Regions from separate parts of the Homo sapiens genome. Here region 2 is linked to region 1. Evidence: promoter capture Hi-C in 16 types of primary human blood cells and fetal thymus (Javierre and others, 2016). All regions are on one chromosome and are shown on one strand. Each heading gives the region's core, a stretch centred on a gene start or on the middle of the fragment in contact. The rest is flanking DNA. Distances are from core to core; before and after follow the strand shown.

Region 1 (5,289 bases), core at 1,342-3,841:
TTTAATTGTTTTGTTTTTTGTTTTTTATTGAGATAGGGTCTCACTCTGCTGCCCAGGCTGGAGTGCTGTAGTGCAATCATAGCTCACTGCAGCCTCAAACTGCGGGGCTCAGTCGATCCTGTCACCTCAGCCTCCCAAAGTGCTGGGGCTACAGGTGTGGGCTACTCACCTGTACAATGTGCTCAGCCAACCACACGTTGTTTTAAAAGCTATTTACCAGCCAATAGAGCTACTTCTTTCCTCCTTACTTTTCTTTTTCAGAGTTTTTGTTATATCTTTTCCTGTTTACACTATCAATTGCTTTTAGAATCATTCTATTAAATTTTAAAATAATGGAATACACAGTAGTGGACTAAAACCTAATATATTAATTGAAAATTAATTTTCCTGTGCTACTTTTTGGAAGGAAGTCACTGTGTACAATCCACCTTTAAGGAGTGAGGAGTTATGCTCTGTATCACGAGGACCTTTTGTTTTTTGTTGCTATTGTGAAAGATTTCTTTTAGTATTTTCATATATGTTATTACCAATATAAAGGACTGATATGACTTGTTGAAGAACTTCTATGTAGCAACTTTATTAAACCCCTTTATCAATTCTATTAGCTTTTGTTCATATTTTATTTCTTTGGGTTGTGTGGATTTTTTTTAAGAGATGGGGTCTCACTGTGTTGCCCAGGCTGGTCTCAAAACTCCTGGGTTCCAGTGATCCTCCCACCTCGGCCTTCCAAAGTGTTGGGATTATAGGCATGAGCCACTGTGCCTGGCCCGGTCTGTCAATTTCTACTGTGAGTAATCCCTTTGCCTTTTCTTTCCTAACATTATACATTACATTTCCATTTCCTGTCTTATTACATCAGTCAGGACTTCCAGAAAATTATCAAAAAACAGCAGTGATCAGAGATCTAGTGAATATCCTCGGGTATTTGTCTGTTGACACTCTCAGTTCTTTTGGGAAACTGCGCTACTCCATATGTACAGTCCTTGTGGGACGAGACCAGTCACAGGGCACCTAACCCTAACCCTGTAGGTTCAAAGCTGGGTGCATGGTCCAGGGCCAGCCAAACATCAGACCCTATTTTCCCACCCAGGGCGATTGTTCCAGAGGTGGGCAAGAAACCTAAGCAGGGCCAACCAGATTTTCTCCCAGTTTTTTGTTTGTTAGTTTGGAACCAGAAGAGAGGAGGGGAGGGCCTTACTTTCTGGTTTAACAGACGGGAAAGATAGGAACGAGGGTATCAGAGGCCACCACTGTCACTTGCACAGGAAGAGAAAGGCTGCCGGCAGAGGAGGAAGAGAAACTACGGAAAGAATCCCAAGGGGCGAGGAGAAGGGAGGAGAGGGACAGAGATGGGAAGAGGGACAACAAGAATGATCTGGTTTTGTTTTTTTTTTTTTTTTGAGTGGAGTCTCCCTCTGCCACCAGGCTGGAGTGCAGTGGCGAGATCTCGGCTCACTGCAACCTCTGCCTCCCGGGTTCAAGCAATTCTCCTGCCTCAGCCTCCCTAGTAGCTGGGATTATGGCGCGCGCCACCATGCACAGCTAATTTTCGGTACAGACGGTGTTTCACCATGTTGGCCAGGATGGTCTCGATCTCTTGACCTTGTGATCCGCCCGCCTAGGCCTCCCAAAGTGCTGGGATTACAGGCGTGAGCCACCGCGCCTGGCCTAATGACCTTGTTTTCAAATCCCTGAATCCAAACTTCCTGATTATGTGAGCCAAAAAATTTGTTTTCCATTTTCTCTACTTACATTGGATCATTACAACGGAAGGAATTTTGACTATTAGAGAAATCAATCTTGTCCTGGTAACTGACACTTATTAGGTAACGGCTGGTGCCAGGCTGAGGGCAGGTGGCACTGACTCCGGTCCTCCGCCCAGGCAACCCCAGTCTTCACAGCTGGCGACGAGTGTTCTTTCACGTTTGCAGATGAGGAAGCTGAGGCTCTGGGAGGAAAGCGCGCTGCTCCTGCCCTTCTGGGCCGCAGCCTCTCGTACTCCCACAGCAGGCTTGATGGATAAACTTCCAACACGACCAGCTGGCACAAACTGTGCTACTTGGCAAATGGGAGCATGTTGCTCTATCCTGGTAGATTCTAAGTTCTCTAATGGAACAACTGATGAGAGGAGAGGAGTATGCAACACCCTAACCAGCATCAAAGGGTGTACCCAACTCAATCTGCACAGCAAATGCGCCCAACCCCACACACCCCGCGGGGTGCTAACCGAGTCACGGCTCGAGGCCTCTGGGTCCTTCCACGCCAGGTCATTCAGAACCTGAAACCCCCAGCGGAGGTGGAGAGCCGGGGTGAGTCCTGGCGTCCGAGACGTGGAGGACCCAGCCCCCGGAGCGCGTTCCGTTAGTTTACAGAGCTTTTTCAAACTTTGCCTTCCAAGTGCAGGAGTTCCTTGGTCTTTGCAAGACCCGCAGGCGTCCGCAGTGGTGCAGAGAGAGGTGCAAGGGGCGCGCCCAAGGTCGCAGGCTGCCTGGCTGCGCGCTCAGTCGGGCCCCCGGGCGCCAGGCGCGGGGCGGGCTCTGGGCGGGCGGCCGGGGCGGGGACTGCAGAGCAGGCTGCACTGCGCGGTACCCACTGCCGGCCTGCGCGGTACTCACTGCCGGCCTCCGCGGTACCCACTGCCGGCCTCCGCGCTACCCGGCCGCAGCGCGCGAGTCACATGGAAGCTCCTGAGGAGCCCGCGCCAGTGCGCGGAGGCCCGGAGGCCACCCTTGAGGTCCGTGGGTCGCGCTGCTTGCGGCTGTCCGCCTTCCGAGAAGAGCTGCGGGCGCTCTTGGTCCTGGCTGGCCCCGCGGTGAGTAAGGTGGCCTCAGTGGCAGGCCGGTACCGGCGGGCTGGGGACCTGGTGATTTCTGCCTCCGCGGGTGACTTTGGCGGGCTTTGGGGACCGAGCGAGCTGTCCGCCGGCGGGCTCCGGGGAGCATCGTGCCAGGAGCCGGGCGGGCACCCCAGCTCCTCTGCCTGCGTCCCGGCCGCTTTCCGCTCCGCACCACCCGACTGGGGGCCCCGCGGGGCACTGCGGGAACGGCTGGTACGCGCCCGGGCGCATGTTGGCTCGGAGAGGCCGGCGGCTCCAGCCTCCTGCGCCAGGAGACACCGGAGAGCTGGGACCTTTGCCCCTAACGGGGCTCTACCAGGTCCAGGCTGCATTTGCATCCGGGGGTGCCTTCTCTGGGAGCTGATTCCGGCCAATAAAACGCAAGTTGCCTGAACTTCAAAACACAAGGGAACTTGTTTCTTTGAAAAGTAGCGGTCAAAAGTTCGGGAGCTCTGCGATCTAAATAATCCCGAGGCACGGAGGAGGGGGTGCGTGGTCTGTCGTGGACTCAGAGCTGCGAAATGATTTCTTCAGAATTCAGTCAACCTCTACCGAGGAAACCAGAGGCATCCTGTACCACCCCCTCCCCGCCAGTAATTATGTATGTGAAAGAAAAAAGGGGTTTTAATGTGGTTCTTTGTGGGGTCGAGGTGTTCTTATCTGTGGGATTCTTTTCTTTTTAATCATTAGGTTAGGGCTGTTTCTGCCTTGTCTCCTAAAAATAATGTGGTTTTAAAAACCACAAAAACACAATCCTATCCACGTTCTCCTGCCAGCTTGGGTGGTTTTCAAACCGAGAGGGTAGGACGCGGCACAAGAAGCAACTGGTATGCACTTAAGGCGTGAATAAGCTTTTGACTTTGAGGCCCACATTCTGCACCTGCGCGGGCTGAGGGGGGCCGCTGTGCCTCTGGAGTGGGGGCTCGGTAGTTTGTGGGATATTGTGGCACCCGCTGTGGTGTGCAGGACAGCAAGGGTAATGCCGAGGTCAAAGCCATGGAATAAGATCCATCAGCCATGCTTTCTCACAGACCAGAAAGAACTCATGATTTGGGGCTGGGCGCGGTGGTTCACGCCTGTAATCCCAGCACTTTGGGAGGCTGAGGCAGATGGATCACTTGAGGTCAGGAGTTCGAGACCAGCCTGGCCAATATGGTGAAACTCCGTCTCTACTAAAAATACAAAAATTAGCCAGACGTGGTGGCGGGCGCCTGTAGTGCCAGCTACTCCAGAGGCTGAGGCACGAGAATCGCTTGAACCTGGGAAGTGGAGGTTACAGTGAGCCAGGATGGTGCCACTGCACTCCAGCCTGAACAACAGAGTAAGACTTGGTCTCAAAAAACAAAACAAAACAAAACAAAAACACCTCATGGCTGGGCGTGGTGGCTCACGTCTGTAATCCCAGCACTTTGGGAGGCCAAGGCAGGCGGATCACGAGGTCAAGAGATTGAGACCATCCTGGCCAACCTGGTGAAACCCCGTCTATACTAAAAATACAAAAAATAAAAAATAAAAATTAGCTGGGCATGGTGGCAGGCGCCTGTAATTCCAGCTACTTGGGAGGCTGAGGCAGGAGAACCGCTTGAACCCGGGAGGCGGAGGTTGCAGTGAGCCCAGATCGCGCCATTGCACTCCAGCCTGGGCAAAAAAACACCTCATGATTTGGAATCTCAAGACCTGGGGCTGCGTGCCCTGCTTTGACCTCCGAAAGTAAGTCAGGAAGCAGCTGTGCAGATTGAAACAGCCTCCTAACCTCTTCTGGTCTCTGCATATTCATTTGTAAAATGGAGATAATAATCATGTCTTGGTTCAACACTCCCTCACAGAGCTGCTGTGAGAAGGGGCTTTCTAAGGCTATTATTGTTTTATTATTATTATTATTTTTTGAGACAGGGTCTTGATCTGTCGGCCAGGCTGGAGTGCAGTGGTGTGATCACAGCTCACTGCAGCCTCAACTTCTGGAGTAGCGGAGATTACAGGCACACACCACCATGCCTGGCTAATTTTTGTATTTTGGGTTAGAGATAGGGTCTCCCTGTGTTGCCCATTGCTTGAATTCCTGGGCTAAAGCAATCCTCCTGCCTCGGCCTCCCAAGAGCTGGGATTATAAGCATAAGCCACCTTGCCCAGCCTGTTATTGCTTTAATAGTATAGCAATAATAATAATAATAATAATAATAATAACAGGGCAGGTTTCTGAAATCCAGCCCTCCCAGTAGCCTGATCCCCTTGATGTGGGGGACCTCTCCAGGTCTCCAGGGATGAGCACTAGACTGACATGCTGGGGACCTCACCTTTTCTCTTTGTATGTACATATATGTATACCATTGTGTTTATTACAAATGTCATGCATATTTACTGTAGAAAAAAATAGAAAACCAAGACCAACAATAGGAAAAAACCCTCTGAAATCTCACCGCTGAGAGGTAATTTGGGAGCTTTCCTTCTAGTCC
Region 2 (4,663 bases), core at 1,996-4,495, 120 kb after region 1:
AACAGATTCTGTGTTTGTCTGGGATTTGGGGTTAATTTTTGAGCTAACATGATTTTAGGTGTTTTCATTTAATGGATTATTTAATGAGGGACTGGTACTGTGCTGGGTGCTGACATATTTCTGTTACTAACAATCTCTTTTGTTCTAACAAAATGTACTTTTCTGTGATTATATAAGAGTACTTTTTTTTTTTTTTTGAGATGGAATCTTGCTCTGTCACCCAGGCTGTAGTGCTGTGGTGTGATCTCGGCTCACTGCAACCTTTGCCTCCTGGGTGCAAGCGATTCTTCTGCCTCAGCCTCCCAAGTAGCTGGGATTACAGACGTGTGCCACCATGCCCAGCTAGTTTTTGTATTTTTGGTAGCGATGGGGTTTCACCGTGTTGGTCAGGCTGGTCTCGAGCTCCTGACCTCAGGTGATCCGCCCAGCTTGGCCTCCGAAAGTGCTGGGATTACAGGTGTGAGCCACCATGCCCATGTGTCTGGAATTGGTGGGTTCTCGGTCTCACTGACTTCAAGAATGAAGCCGCGGACCCTTGCAGTGAGTGTTACAGTTCTTAAAGATGGTGTGTCCGGAGTTTGTTTCTTCTGATGTTCGGACATGTTCGGAGTTTCTTCCTTCTGGTGGGTTCGTGGTCTTGCTGGCTTCAGGAGTGAAGCTGCAGACCTTCGTGGTGAGTGTTACAGCTCTTAAGGCGGCGCATCTGGAGTTGTTAGTTCCTCCTGTCTGGAGTTGTTCATTCCTCCCGGTGGGTTCGTGGTCTCGCTGGCCTCAGGAGTGAAGCTGCAGACCTTCGCAGTGAGTGTTACAGCTCATAACGGCAGTGCGGACCCAGAGTGAGCAGCAGCAGCAAGATTTATTGCAAAGACTGAAAGAACAAAGCTTCCACAGTGTCAAAGGGGACCCGAGCAGGTTGCCGCTGCTGGCTTGGGCAGCCTGCTTTTATTCCCTTATCTGGCCCCACCCGCATCCTGCTGATTGGTCCATTTTACAGAGAGCTGATTGGTCCGTTTTGACAGGGTGCTGATTGGTGCGTTTACAATCCCTGAGCTAGACACAGAATGCTGATTGGTGCATTTACAATCCTCTAGCTAGACATAAAAGTTCTCCAAGTCCCCACTAGATTAGCTAGACACAGAGCACTGATTGGTGCATTTACAAACCTTGAGCTAGACATAGAGTGCTGACTGGTGCTTTTACAATCCTCTAGCTAGACATAAAAGTTCTCCAAATCCCCACCAGATTAGCTAGATACAGAGTGCTGATTGGTGCATCCACAAACCCCAAGCTAGACACAGAGTGCTGATTGGTGCATATACAATCCTCCGGCTAGACATAAAAGTTCTCTAAGTCCCCACCCGACTCAGGAGCCCAGCTGGCTTTGCCTAGTGGATCCCACGCCGGGGCTGTGGGTGGAGCTGCCCATCAGTCCAGCGCTGCGCGCCTGCACCCCTCAGCCCTTGGGCGGTCGATGGGACTGGGCGCTGTGGAGCAGGGGGCGGCGCCCATCAGGGAGGCTCGGGCAGCATGGGAACCCACCAGGGGCGGGGTGGGGGCCTTGGGCATGGCGGGCTGCAGGTCCCGAGCCCTGCCCTGCGGGGAGGTGGCTGAGGCCCGGCGAGAATTCGAGTGTGGCGCTGGTGGGCTGGCATTGCTGGGGGACCCGGGGCACCCTCCTCAGCAGCTGGCCCAGGTGCTAAGCCCCTCATTGCCCAGGGCTGGCGGCGCCGGCCAGCTGCTCCGAGTGTGGGGCCCATTGAGCCTGCGCCCACCCAGAACTCGCTCTGGCTTGTGAGCGCCACGCGCAGCCCCGGTTCCTGCCTGCGCCTCTCCCTCCACACCTTCCCACAAGCAGAAGGAGCCGGCTCCAGCCTTGGCCAGCCCAGAGAGGGGCTCCCACAGTGCAGCTGTGGGCTGAAGGGCTCCTCAAGCGTGGCGAGAGTGGGTGCCAAGGCCAAGGAGGTGCTGAGAGCGAGCAAGGGTTGCCCGCACGCTCTCACCTCTCACCCAGCCTATAAGAGTACTTCTGCTTTCAAAAAAGACATGTCTGTGGCATGAAAACATGCCACACATACACAAAAAGTGCCCTCCTGAACTAGAGGGCAGATCCTCACACTGACTTAACATGCTGGCATTTAAGAATATCAAGAACTGAATAAAGAAAATGATCTGCCCAACTGCGGGTAGTTCATCTGTCTGAGTCAGAGGTTCTTATGCCTTCCTGGGGAGGAAGTTATGATGCCGCGAAGAAATTGGCACTGCTGAGTTCTACATGCAGTTGCTACAGGGAGGAGTCTTCATTTAGCTTTAAGCGAAATACAGCTTAAAAATATCTTACCTGTATTCTGTACATCAACTTGTGATGGATTGAGGCCAGTTCTGGTTCTTGGAATGATATTTTTCTCTTTGTTAGAGCCATTTTGTTCTAATAGCTGTGATGATCCAATCAAGAAAGATGAAATGGAAGACAGTGAGATGTCAAGGATTGAATAGGACGTAGAACCAGAAGATAGAGGTTGAAGGTACCGCTTTGCCCCTGACCAGGGGTAAATTCTTCAATAACTGACTCTGTCCGGATAAGGAGGATAATAATGCTCTACCAGCTTCAGTTACCGTGTTAGGGGATCAATAATATATGCTATGTAGATTAAGCCATAGAAAAGTTAAAGCTTGAAACATTTGTTGGGCAGCTGAACCATGAAGTGAATGAAATTAATTCGCCTTCAAGTGGAAACATGAGATCCACAAGCCAGCTTTTACTTCACACTTCCACCTTGGAGTCTTGAATACCTCTCTGTCTTCCTTGCTTGCCATCTGTTCTCTTACTTTTGATGCTGTTATTGTCCAAGATGTTCTCTCTTAGAATAGCTGGTAATGATAGCACAATGCATAGATGGGCTCAGTCCACAGAAGCTACGTGAATTCTCCCAGTAACAGATGAGGAAATTGAGGCTCAGAGATGTTCAGTAGCTTGCCTAAGGTTGCATAAGCTAGTGAGTGGCAGAGCCCAGATTCAAACCAGATACACTTCAAAAGCAAGCGCTCTCAGCTACTGTGCCGGATATACCATTCATTCAGAATAGCGTGGGCTAAGCCCACTCTGTGTTGTGAGACAGAGAACATTCAGACTAAGACATGCATGACCTGTCCTGTGGGAGCCACTCTTCACCAGAGGCACTTCTGCACACACCCGCGTCTCATGCATTTTCCCTGGTCAAATTCAACCATTTGTTCTCCTTAGTGTCTTTGTTGCTGAGCTCATGTAAAAAAACACTGGAGTCTCCAGATTAGTTCTATGTGGGTTCATGCTTCCCAGATGCCATCGGACTGTGTGTTCTCCTCTTGTCCTTGGTCAGTTCCCTCTCCCATCCCTCACAGGGACTGGTCTTGACACTCTCTGGGTTTTACTGAATGTTACATGTTTATGTTGAAGAGATTGCTGATGTTAGACGTTAGGATTTATTTGGCAGTGCAAGAGTTTGTGTTTCTCTTTCTTTGAGGATCTCTATATTGTTATTAATGGTGGTGTTGAGGAAACCACGGAGCTCCTGAAGCAGCGATTTGACCACATTTTCTATACGGGAAACACTGCGGTTGGCAAAATTGTCATGGAAGCTGCTGCCAAGCATCTGACCCCTGTGACTCTTGAACTGGGAGGGAAAAGTCCATGTTATATTGATAAAGATTGTGACCTGGACATTGTTTGCAGGTGAGTCTGGCTCTCTGATTTTCTGAGGTTTTCCCAGCACAATGGAGACTTTTCCTGACAATGTTACTCTTTGTACTTGAACCCCATACCTTATGGCTCCAAGATACATTATTAAGCTTTGGTGGTTGATGTCCTCAAGAGTAACAGGAGTCTTTCACTGTCTCTTGGCGCCACTGTCAAAAATGGTGAGCTGTAAGTCCTGACATCATGTGGTTGTCCTTAGGAATTTTAAAAAAGTTATATCTGTTCTCAAGATTACAGCTAGATCTAGCAAGAAATTTTAACGTTCTTCTGGCCAGTGATCTGTGAAGTACATAATCCAAAGTATTGTGTGTGCCTAATAAAATCTTTAAATGCCCATTTGAGAGGGTATTATGCTGATATCTTAACTGAGATCCTTTGTGGGCAAAACAAGTGTTCCTCATTTTTTAACTGTGAATAACATCTTGCATCTGAAAATTAGAAAATAAGAGGTTTCAGGTTCTCTCTGCTAAATCCGGTTTAGCTACTAAGAAGTGCCAAATCATAGAACTGACTCTGTGCTCTGGGTGGTGTGGCTTTCTCTGCCCTTCAGAGATTCCAGGTCAGGGTTCCAGGTTGGCTTCCTAAGTAGAAATCCATTTGTCAAAACCAGACACCCTCAGTTAGTGAATGTTTAGGGCATGGGTTTCTGCCCATGCATAGGAAAGGTCTTCCCAAGTGGGGCAGGGCTCCACAAAGAGGAGGATGGCCTTGGAGGCTGGCTGACATCCTGCTTTATACCTGAACATCTTGCAGGCAGAGCCAAAAGCCACAACCAGGAGAGTCTGTACCGAACTCTGGTCATCCAGGACTTTCCTTTGGCTGGACTGGAAGAGGGGAAAGGACATTGGGAGGCTGTTTCTCCTCTTTTCCTGCAGCAGGCAATGGCTTCACTGTTTACCAAGTACTGTTTGCCGTGAGCTGGCCTGAGAA

The links. Contacts are between HindIII fragments. The CHiCAGO score rates a contact against its expected background, and 5 or more counts as called.
Region 2: a fragment that was not itself captured here is called in contact with the fragment with the promoter of SLC47A1 in region 1 in 2 of 17 cell types (M0 macrophages and M1 macrophages); the score reaches 6.2 in M0 macrophages.

What each region holds. Positions count from the first base shown.
Region 1 is chr17:19,531,263-19,536,551 of GRCh38, forward strand. SLC47A1 (solute carrier family 47 member 1) reads left to right here and starts at 2,592. Exons shown (of 17, transcript NM_018242.3): 1 at 2,592-2,812. The coding sequence starts at 2,678. The HindIII fragment of the contact is 8,699 bases long and covers 1-3,685 here.
Region 2 is chr17:19,652,866-19,657,528 of GRCh38, forward strand. ALDH3A2 (aldehyde dehydrogenase 3 family member A2) reads left to right here. Exons shown (of 10, transcript NM_000382.3): 4 at 3,501-3,709. Among named protein-coding and RNA genes, the nearest start is that of ALDH3A2, 6.4 kb to the left of the region's middle. The HindIII fragment of the contact is 1,156 bases long and covers 2,668-3,823 here.